Regions from separate parts of the Homo sapiens genome. Here region 2 is linked to region 1. Evidence: promoter capture Hi-C in human tissues and cell types (Jung and others, 2019). All regions are on one chromosome and are shown on one strand. Each heading gives the region's core, a stretch centred on a gene start or on the middle of the fragment in contact. The rest is flanking DNA. Distances are from core to core; before and after follow the strand shown.

Evidence for each region. Contacts are between HindIII fragments. The study calls those that stand out against the background at their distance.
Region 2: a fragment that was not itself captured here is called in contact with the fragment with the promoter of LRRC1 in region 1 in 1 of the 25 tissues and cell types used here (dorsolateral prefrontal cortex).

What each region holds. Positions count from the first base shown.
Region 1 is chr6:53,790,797-53,796,730 of GRCh38, reverse strand. LRRC1 (leucine rich repeat containing 1) reads right to left here and starts at 1,726. Exons shown (of 14, transcript NM_018214.5): 1 at 1,316-1,726. The coding sequence starts at 1,474. It overlaps LOC124901333 (a long non-coding RNA gene), which reads left to right and starts at 3,056. Exons shown (of 5, transcript XR_007059619.1): 1 at 3,056-3,190; 2 at 3,382-3,448. RefSeq lists an enhancer at 942-1,654 and silencers at 1,621-1,860, 2,906-3,035. The HindIII fragment of the contact is 7,170 bases long and covers 1-5,934 here.
Region 2 is chr6:55,406,965-55,412,678 of GRCh38, reverse strand. No RefSeq gene overlaps it. Among named protein-coding and RNA genes, the nearest start is that of GFRAL, 82 kb to the right of the region's middle. The HindIII fragment of the contact is 5,201 bases long and covers 431-5,631 here.

The DNA of each region.
Region 1 (5,934 bases), core at 477-2,976:
GTCCTAGTGAGGATAATCTCCATGATTACACAGAGCAAACATCCAATCAATTCCACATGAACCCAGGAAAGTTAATCCAAGAAGAACACCACCACTTAAAATATTGAGAAAAACACACAGTTCTTATTGTTTAAATGCTCCATCAGCGCTGGAGAACGTATCAGGTCATTCTAACAAGTCAGAACACTTGACTAGTGTTTCTGTGACAATGATTTGGCTTGTGTTAACTAAAGGGCAACAAGAAGTTTGCGTTCCAAAGCTCAGGCCTAAAACAGGTCCAATCCCCGACTGCCAGCAGTCTCCCTACTTCCTGCACACCTTTGGATTATTGCACACCGACTTCCTGCACACACCTGGGTTTGAGACACCTTCCCCGAGGGGTTACTCTAGCTAAGTTCCCGAGGCAAGCTTGAAAGAAGTTCGCTGTACCCCTACTCTCGGTCAAAGCACCATCAGCACATGTCGCTTGACAAGTTCGGCGGCAATGGAGTGATCAATTTACATAAACAACTCTGAAGAGATAACGCATCACTGCAAGGAGAGAAAGTCAGCAGGACGACTGTGCCCGCTCCGGGAAAGGCGGCTGCAAGGCTGGCCCGCGGGCAGAGCCTCCGCTGACGTTCACCGCAGCTCCCACCACGCAACAGGTCCACGTAGGCAAGGCCCGGGCGGCCGGCATCTGGGCACCTGCCCCTAGCGCTCCAGGCCCAGCTCTCCCCTGCGCCCATCTCGCGTCCACCCCCGCAGCCACCGCAGGCCAGCCGGCCAAGCCCACCCGCGATAAAGCACGGAGCACATTCCTCATTCCTCCCAAGATGCCGAGATAGTGCGGCCCGCTTGAGCGCTGCCCAGGTCACAAGGTCCTCCGGGACATGCCTTGACTAAAGGAGAGGCGCGCCCGGCCCTTGGTGGGGGAACGACCCCGGGGAGTGGAGGGGGGGAGGATGCAGTGCTCTGTAGCTTCCAGATGGAAACAGCCCGAATCACCCGGCTTCTCACCTGACCGGGCACAAGTGCCAGGTGTCAGTACCTAGCATGGATCTAAGTTACTTAACAGTCCAGAACGCTTCTCCAATAGCACGAGCCCCAGTGACTACGCGCAAAATATCCGGTCACTTTGAATAAAATGAAAAGGAACTTTTACTGGGAAAGGATGGAAGTAAAGAGACAGGGGGAGAAAGAAGCAGGTGAATGCATAAAAGAGGGAAGGTTCCTTCACGCCGGACCCGGAGATGGAAGAGGGGACGAGAGAGGATGGGAGCGGAAGGGACAGCAGACGAGCGGGCAGAGCGCTCAGGTGAGGCCGGACCCTTACCTCGGGCAGCTCGCGGAGCTGGTTGGCGTCCAGCAGCAGCTCCTCCAGGCTCCGGGCATAGCGGTAGATCTCCTCGGGGACGTAGACCAGCGAGCAGTGGCGCTTGTCGATGCTCTCCACATGACGGTTGCACCGCCACAGGGGGATGCAGTGGAACATCGCCGCCCCCGCCGCCGCCTAGCCGGGTCCCGAGCGGCGGAGACCCGGGCTCCGAGCCCGCTCTGGCCGGCGGCTCCGCTCAGTCCGCTGCCCTCTCCGCGCTCGTTGTTGGCTCTTGGGTTAGCTCGCTTCTCGCGCCGGGCTTCGCGGTCGGAAGTGCTTCAAGGAACCTGGAGCGGGAGCCCCTGCCCCGTCCCTGTACCCCCGCCCGCCAGCCGGTGCCTCCACTCCCACCCGCCAGTCGCCGTCGCCGCCCCCGCCGCCGCGCGGAGCTTCCTACTCGCAGCCGCCGCGCGGACTGAGCATGCGCGCCAGTGGGTGCGCGCCGAGGGCGTTTCCCGGCCCGAGGGATGCTCCGCTCCGGGTTTTCCCGGCGACCTGCATCCAGAGAGGGTCGACTGACCTGCGGGCCGGCTGCTGGCGGTCTGCTTACTCCGGCAAAGACGGGGGCGCATCGGGCCGTTTGAGGAAGGCAGACTGTGAAAGGACTTGGGACAAAGATGAGGCGGAGTAGAGGCGGCCTGAGCAGAGCAGAACAACTTTGATATTTAGTTTTATTTAACTCGCACTCCTCTCCTTGCTCCCCTTCCCCAAAACAACTTTCTCTTCCGGGGTCACACAGGACCGCCCCAAAGCGTACCTTGCGCGCCGGGGGCGCCAGGCGCTACTGGATTCGGTGTAGTTTTGAGGTGTTTGCACCACCCTCGCTGCTGCTTTCGTGGCTGCCCGTGTGCCCGCTGCTCACGGCTGCCCCAGAAGTGTGAGCTGGCCGCGCCCGGCCCTCTGGTCCTCGGGCACCGCCTGCAGGCTTTGTAACTTGGGAGCACATCTCTGGTGATCATGGTTTATGCAGTGAGTGATAGTAAATCCTCCTCCCTGTACCAGCAAAGGCATAGGAGTCTGAGAGTCTGCGAGATTCTCATAGATGTGGTTGCACCTGGCAAGGAGCCCAGCTGCAGAAATAAGCAGGCAAACGCGAGTTTCTGAGCCAGTTCCAGCCCGGCCCAGATGTTGGCCCCTGACAACTAGCTGTGGCTGGTGCGGAGGGAGGAGCGAGGGAAGAGGGGCAGATCGAGGCTGCCAGGTGAGCATCCTCCATACAGCTCCTGCTTTTCTGCTACAACCCCAGTCCCGTCCAGCCCGGATGACCGGGGAGGCTCACTATTGGGTTATAACAACCATTCCCTCGCCCCGACTCATTCCTGCGGACCACGGCCGGAATCCTGAACTGCCCCTCTTTGCCTGTAACTGTTTGCAACACAGTCCCCATCTCCGAATAACCAAATTTTCTCCTTTAATGAAGGGTTGCTAAAGTCAAGGTCAATCACAATGATGAATCATTTCCTTGGGGGCTTCTCTGATTCCCCACCCGGCCGCCCCTTCGTTCCACACTTTCCCTTTCAAGCATACTCAAACTCCAGGTTTCCACCTGCGGCCGCTGCCACGCTGGCTCTCCCACACTCACTCCCGCCCTCCAGCTGCTATAGCTAAAATCTGGAGCCACGGAGTTCACTTTTCTATAGAAGACAAAGCTGAGCATGCTCAGTGGCCAAGGCAAAGTTTGGTCGGAAACTAGTTTTTGCATTAGACTCTCCATGGGCTCCATAGACTCTCCTGTACCTTACGACTAGGCACAGGAGCGTTTCCCCGGTGAAATGGAGAAGAGGACACTTGGTCTTTTCAACTTTACTAGGAGGGCTCCTTTCTTCCCAGTCCGTAAGGAGGGGTCTGACTTTCATTTCCACCCCAGCATTATCACCTTAACTCTCATTCCAGTCAATCCCGAAACTCCGTTGCCCTACCCACTTCACCCTTCTTTTGTTTGTCCTGATTTGATTCCTGCGTTCTCACAGAGGGCTACCTGGACTTTGAACCTCCACCCCCCTTTCTACATTCTTGCATTCCAGAAACATATGAAGCTCATTTCTGCCACCCTTCCTAGAAAACTGGTTCCTGACAGAGACATGTGGAAAGGTAAGTAAGTCCCTGTCTTCAAGTTTTCCAACTGCTTTTTAAAAAAAAAATTAAAGAAGGCTAGTTCCCTCCATTTAAAATAATGTGATTTCCAGAGGTTATCACACTAGATTATTTTAACGAACACCAAATGTATTTTAAAGACGTGTCCAGTCTTTTAAAAATTCAGACCTCAATAAGCATTCCTTGTGTGCCTCTCCATGATGCTTCAGCTTCTCTGTGTTATTATTTTTGTATCACCTTAATCCGAAAGAGATTATGACCTCTTAAACAACAGATACTGTCTCACTTGCTTTGTAGATCTGGGAAGCTGCCACAGTGCCATATGCACAGTCAATGATCAACAGTTTTTGTTGATTTAATTCTATGGGTAGTCACTGGGAGAATTCTTGACTTTCCTTGTTTCCAATAATCTGCCAAGAATTTGAAACAGCGTAGTAAGAGAGAAAAAATGAAACAACACCTTGTCAACTACAGAATAGGGAAGCAATTAACTTTTTACTCACCTGAAGAATTTTAGGGTTTCCCGCCTGATAAAACATCTAGTTTCTTCCGCCACATACAAATGAGTTTGACTCAATTTAAACAAAGTTTAAAAAGACCACCTAAATCACTTTATTCTTAGAATAATGTAATTCTTTTATTCATTTGTACTGTGAACCATGTTTTCACAGCCTTTGAGCTAAAGAGATCTGTGTTTGAACTCTTGTTATGCCACTAGCTTCGTAGAAATTGACAGTTTACTTAACTTGTATAAGCCTCAGTTTTATCATATCTCAAATGAGGATGATTCATGGGATTGTTATCTGGATTAAATGAAATGACATATGTAAAATGCTTAGTACAGTATCAGACACACATTACTTTAATCAATAAATATTAATTATGCACTTTATTAGCCAGCCTCCAGGAAGTTAGGGACAACATCCACCATCTCCTGGTTGGTCTATGTAACCAACTTTTTCTTTCTCGAATCACTCACTTTGGGGAAGCCAGCTGCCATGTTGAGCAAATCTAGAGCTCCACATGCCAAAGAATTGCAGACTGCTGACAACAACTAGCAAGGGACTGACGATTCTTGGCAGTAGTCATGTGAGTGAGCCATCTTGGAAGCCAGTTCTCCAGCCCTTGTCAAGCCTTCAAGTGACTGCAGCACCAGCTGATAGCTTGACTAAAACCTCATGATAGCCTCAGACTCAGGACCACTCAGCTAAGCTGCTCCCCACTCTTGCCCCTCAGAAATTATGTGAGACAGTAAATGTTTGTTGCTTTAAGCTGCTAAGATTTGGAGTAATTTATTACACAGCAACAAATAACTAATAAAGGTACATACTATGCACCAGGCATTGTGCTAGATACTAGAAATGTAAGAAAAACAAGATAGGTCTTAGCCTCATGAAGCTTACTCTCTGAAGTTAGGAGAATGATAAATACTTAGTGGTCTGTTGTTGCTTTATCATTAATTTTTTGAGCATGATATCATTAATTTTTTTAAGTGAAAATCCAAAGTGTTAGCGTGTAAGATAGGGATTCTTGTAAATGGGGATTCAGAGGTTTGGGCATGTGAATTTTAATGTGACATACCACCGCCTAACCACTAGAATGACTTAAAATTAAAGAAAAAAAAAAAAAGACAATCCCAAATGTTACTGAAGATATAGAGCAACTTGGCCCGGCAGAGTGGCTGACACCTGATTCCAACACTTAGGGAGGCCCAGGCGGAATGGGGTGGAGGGATCGCTTGAGGCCAGGAGTTCAAGACCAGCCTGGGCAACATAGGGAGACACCCACCTCTACAAAAAATAAAAAATTAGCCTGGCATAGTGGCATATGCCTGTAGTCCCAGCTACTCAGAAGGCTAAGGTGGAAGGATCACTTGAGCCTCCTAGTTAGTTTGAGGCCGCAGTGAGCTGGGCACTGCACTCAGCCTGGACAACAGCATAGGACACTGTCTCAAACAAATAAAAAAATGGAACAACTGGAATTCATACACTGCTGGTGGAAGTGTAAAATGGTAAAACCACTTTGTAAAACAATTTGGCAGTTTATTGTAATCATATGCCTACCTTAATGATCTACCCATTCTACTCCTAGGTATCTGCACAAGAAAAAGTGAAAACATATGTCCAAGCAAGGATTGTTTACAAATGTGCATAGCAGTTTTGTTAATAATAGCCCCAAACTGGAAACAATCCAAATATTCATCAACAGACGGATACAGTGTAGTATAGTGAAACAATGGACTAGCATTCAACTAAAAGGAGCAAGCTACTAATACATGTAGCAATGTGCATAAATCGCAAAAACTATGTTGTGTACAAGGCAAACACAAATGAGTACATACTATATGATCCCATGTATATAAAATTCTGGAAAATGCAAACTAATATAAAGTGACACAACCTAAATCAGTGGTCTAGAACCTGTTAGTTGGGTTGTAGGAGGGATTGTGGTGATAAAGATTGATGATGAAAAACAGAGAATTT
Region 2 (5,714 bases), core at 1,782-4,281, 1.6 Mb before region 1:
CTTTCAACTCTGTCTGCCCATTATAATCACCTGAGAAACTTTTAGAGTCATTGATACCCATGCCTCTTCCTAGAAGTTCTGATTTAATTGATGTGTCATGGTCTTAAAGCATCATCGATTTTTTATCTGAGGATTGACATCTCTTTATTCCCTTCAACTTCCCATCTCTAGTAACCACCATTTTAATCTAAGTTTGATTTTTTTTTTTTTACACTCCACATGTAGGATTGTGCAGAATTTGTCTTTCTGTGCCTGGCTTATATCACTACTTTTATTATCCTTGGTGGCCTTAATATTTCCACACATACTGTGACCTCTTAGCTCTTGTCCACTTCATTTACGTGTAATATTTTCTCTTGATGCCCCGTCCAACTCAGGCGACCATTCTAACACTTCTAGTGACTATAACTTCTGAAATTGATTTTACCCCCATACCCCATTTTTTCCAGCTTTCTCAAACTGTTAGCAGTGGAAGAGATTCGAGTTACCACGAGTTATTGGCGGTGAATCCATACCAATTCCACAGCAACTTCAGTCCTTGTCTCCTCAGAAGAAAGAATTCAACTGAGGGGCATACAGCAGAAAAAGAGACCACGGCAAGTTTCAGAGCATGAGTGGAAATTTAGAAAGGTTTTAGAACAGGAAAGAAAGGAAAATTCTCTTGAAAGAGACCCAATCAGGCACCTAAAGTTGGAAGAAAGAAAAGAGAGCAAAAGAAGACAGCAAAAAAGGGCCTTTAACCTTGATCATGAGACTTACAGGCTCACCCCTTTCCCATGATTCTTTCCATAGGGTGGGCTTTCTGCATGCCCAGTGCTTTCCTTATCCTTTGGGACTGAGCAGGCGCTTGTGTTTAGGAAGTTATATGCAGGCCCATCTGAAGCTTTCTTCCCTCTTCCAGTGGAGTGTGCTCCTGAAAGAATATACTGCACCATTTTTATCTCTTGATGCACATGCCCAGGGAGTGTGCTTCTCCTTAGGGCTTGCGTTCAATTAACATTCTGATGTTAACAGGTGTGGACCATCAGGAAATGGCCTCTCCCTGGTGCTGCCAAATTATCATTTTAGAGAGGCGGAGATTTTTAGTGGGTGGCGGTAGAGCCCTCTCCTGTCCTGCTCATGCCTAATAACTACCTGTACCAAATCCAGCATTTTTCTTTCAACAACTCTTGATTTCCAGTAAGATCACTATGCCTTGCCACCTCAACTATCTTTAACTGCCCATGACCCGTTTGCTGTATTCCCATCATCCACCAGAAGGGCTCAACCACGCGTTCATAGGGAACTTCCGCTGCTGCAGCTTCTTCTCTCCATCGAACTTACTTCAGAAAACTCCAGCTGTGGTAAAATCTAGCTCTCTGTATCTAATGGAGAAAAATCGCTCAACTATACTGACATATTTTGTGTTTTTGACCAAGAATCTCAAAAAGTCAGGTGATTTGAGAAATTGTAATCATTACCTAGTAGAAAATTCACATATACCTCTTACTAATGGCTTTACACATATTAACAAAGTTATTCCTTTCAAACCCTGTAAGGTAAGTGCAATTAATTTCTTTGTTAGGGAAATTAACAGGACATATCGCTGTTAGTTGAGAAGACTGAGGTTCAGAGAATTTAGGTAAGTTGACTCAAATTATAAAACAAGTGAGTCAGTGAGGATTTGAATGCAGGCAGGCTTAGCAATATTGCTTCTCCTATACTCCCTACTAAATTTATCTATTCCCCAAGATAACCATTTCACATTCTCTCTCTTCTCACATCTCTAACATCTTCCTCTCAATTCTGTTGATGACCTCATACTTTACAGAAACTCCACATAAACACCCATTGTAATGCTCCTCTTGAGTGCAAAACTTCTCACAAGTGTTGTAAGTATTCATTGCCTTCATTTCCTCATTCCTCAATCTCTCTTCAATCTACTGCAACTGGGCCTCTGTCTCCACCACATCTATAAGATCTGTTTAAGATCTCAGTGACTTTCCTTCTACCAAAGCCAAAATTAAATTCTAGACCTTATTTTATTCAGTCTCTTGGCAATATCCGACATTGTTGAACATGCTCTCCATCTTGAAAATCTCTACACTTTTGGCTTATTTCTGCTAGCTTTCATTTCTCATTAGCCACCCATTTATAGTAGCCTTGCTTTCTCACTTTCTCACCTTCTTCTTCCAGACCACTAAGTGTTGTAATCATCCAAGTCATTTTTTGGTCATTTTCCATCTTTTCTCACATTTTTTTGTTATGTGGTTTCTTCTATTGTCGTGATTTTAAATAACATTCATACATTTGAGGTTGACTTTATTATGGGTCTCTACTTTCATATAAAAGCTGCCAATTAAAAATATTTGAACAATTACGTCTACCTTAAAATACAGCTGGATACAAACAAAAACAAAAAGATCAAACACATATTTTCCTTTTCAGCTAATCACACTCTACTCCAGGCCAAAAAAAAAAAAAAAAAAAAATGCCTGGCTCGGTGGCTCACACCTGTAATCCCAGCACTTTGGGAGGCCAAGGCGGGCAGATCATGAGGTCAGGAGATAGAGACCATACTGGCTGACACAGTGAAACCCCATCTCTACAAAAATACAAAAAAAAATTAGCTAGGCGTGGTGGGGGCACCTGTATTCCCAGCTACTTGGGAAGCTGAGGCAGGAGAATGGCATGAACCCAGGAGATGGAGCTTGCAGTGAGCCGATATCACACCACTGCACTCCAGCCTGAGCGACAGAGCAACACTCCATCTCAAAAAAAACAAAAAGAAAAAAAAAAAAGAAAAAAAAATCTTGTGTAACCACACTGAATTCTAGGTTTTCCCTATTTCCTGTATCTGTTACATCAATAAGCGTCACTAGCTTTATTTCCATCAAAATGTATTTGTGAAAGATAATTGGGTATTAAATGACTAGAAGAGTTGAGCTAAGCTGGGCACGGTGGCTCCCGCCTGTAATCCCAGCACTTTGGGAGGCTTAGACGGGTGGATCACCTGAGGTCAGAAGTTCAAGACCAGCCTGACCAACATGGTGAAGCCTCATCTCTACTAAAAATACAAAAATTAGCCCTACAGGGTGGCGGGTACCTGTAATCCCAACTACTCAGGAGGCTGAGGCAGGAGAATTGCTAGAACCCAGGAGGCAGAGGCTGCAGTGAGCTGAGATGGAGCCACTGTACTCCAGACTGGGGGACAGAGCGAGACTCCATATCAAAAAATAAAAACAAAAAAGTTAAGCTAAACTTGTTAGCTATTTTCAGAGCATTCTATTTATTGCCTGTTGCTAACTTTCCTGAGCTTGTTCCCCTCCTGTTATGAAAAAAGGAAAACAAGATGAGAGAAAAGGAAGAAGAAAAACAGAAAAAGATTAATACTATGATGAAAGAAATTTGCAGTATTTCTAAGATGATAAAGTAAATGAATAATTATATAGAACAACACTTTGTTTCCTTTATTACCTAGTTGCATGGTTAAAATATGAACAAATACAATAGAATATATTACTTCATATGAAAAATACTTCATTATATAATAAACAATACACCTGTATTTCAATATTGCTGCCAATAAGGACTCCCAGTTCTATTCACTACTACCCTATACCCCATCCCCAGTTCCATCAAGTTTCAATGCAATCAAGAAAATGCTAGATAAATATTTATCTTCCAATCTATCATTTCATTCTGTCAAACTCCTCAAAACTTATCTCCATGTTCTTTCTCTATTATTGAGATGTTAGGGGCAGTAACACATTTTGTTTTCCTTTCCTACTACATATCTTTAAATTCTAATATTTTATTCCTATCACTTTTTATTTGCAGAGACTAATTTTGACTCATCCAAGAGAATAGGGTATCTGTGAAGACTGCCTAACAAACAACTATTTTAAGTTTCCACTTTTTAGAAGTTATTTCCCATTGTTTCCTTTTATATATTGTATCTCAGCTTTGGCTTCTAAACACTCCCCTCCTGTTCTTAATGGTACACTGATTTGGCATATCTTTTTTACTACCTGGGAAACATTTATTCCTTTACCCTTTCTGAGCTACTAAGGCAAAGGTGTCTAGCCAATAGATAAGTAGTCTAAACAGTACTTTTTTGTGGAATGGAATTCTCAGAAAAGAGGAGTGTATTAGTCCATTTTCTTGCTGCTATGAGGATACCTGAGACTGGATAATTTATAAAGAAAAAGAGGTTTAATGGACTCACAATTCCACGTGGCTGGGGAGGCATCACAATCATGGTTGAAGGTGAAGGAGGAGCAAAGGCATGTCTTACATGGCAGCAGGTAATAGAGTGTGTGCAGGGGAACTCCTCTTTATAAAACCATCAAATCTTGTGAGACTTATTCACTATCATGGAAAAAACCCACCCCCATGATTTAATTACCTCCCACTAGGTGCCTCCCATGACACATGAGGATTATAGGAGCTACAATTCAAGATGAGATTTGGGTGGGGACACAGCCAAATCATATCAAGGAGAAACCCAGGCAGTGTTGATTCCTCCACTACTCACTGTATTCTGCAACTCAACTGTCAGCTGCATAGCCTTTAATCTCTTTCCTTCTCAATGAATGAATGATCTCCAAGTATCTGGAAAAGTTTTCATTAAAAGGTGATATTTATTTTGCTAATACAAAACAGTCAACATTTTTTTCATAATAGACAAATTTTGTTCATTAGTAAATAGAAAATCCTAAATTGGTAGAACTTGAGCACTTCCATAGATGTCAACATAGAGAAACACTGTCTTAGGTGTGGACTATTTAGTTCCAAATAACAAAATGAAAAGTATAACTTAAACCCAAGTAATCTGATTTACTTGTTTGAAGCCATTTTACTTTGTATTTAATTGGTGAAGTTAATCTAGACTTTTGTAGCATAAACTATTGGCTACCTACCCAAAAGCCCTCTCTTGTTCATCCTTGCTAATGGATTTTGTTTGGGAGTCCACCCTTCTCCTAGGTAATTCAGGGTCAATTCTGACTAGACTAAGTCAATTATAGTAATTTGAATTCCCTTGTTTCTATGTCTTCAAATAAATCCTGAACTGTACAATCCACTCAGCAACTGTAAGCATGGCAGAAAAGAAAAATTCGAGTCCTTGAAGATTTCATTGAGCCATTAAGTTCACCAATCCTATAGATGCTTTCATCTGGAATTTATGTTATAGGAATTATGTATTTTTTATTAAGATTTTTAATTTCAGGTAAAAGTATTCCACCTCATACATGTGATTCAGACATGCAAGTTAATAACAATAATACTTTAGAGAAGAATATTTAAAATAGATCTTTCCTGGTCCTTTTTTAAAGTATAAGAATTACATAATTACAGTTGGAGATGGCTGGTGATAAAGCTTAGAAATTAAGATGGAAGATTCTGAAATATGATATATCTGTCCTCAGTTACCAATTTTCTGCTCTGAAGCTTGGGAAATTGCTTAACTTCTTTATCGGGTTTTTTATTTTTTATTTTAATTCTGTAAATAGACAATTGGCACAGAGTTTGTGTCAGACTTAAACTACATAATGTATGTAAAGCATGTAGAATAATCTTATATAGTTTAGTTGCTTTTACTATTTTCTGTAATCCCACTGATTAAAATAATTATATTGTAATGAGTATGTGATGTTTGTAGATATGTGTTCCACCTTTGAATTTATGACTACTCCTTTTCTTATGTTTACATTTCCTTTTTAATACCTTCTGCT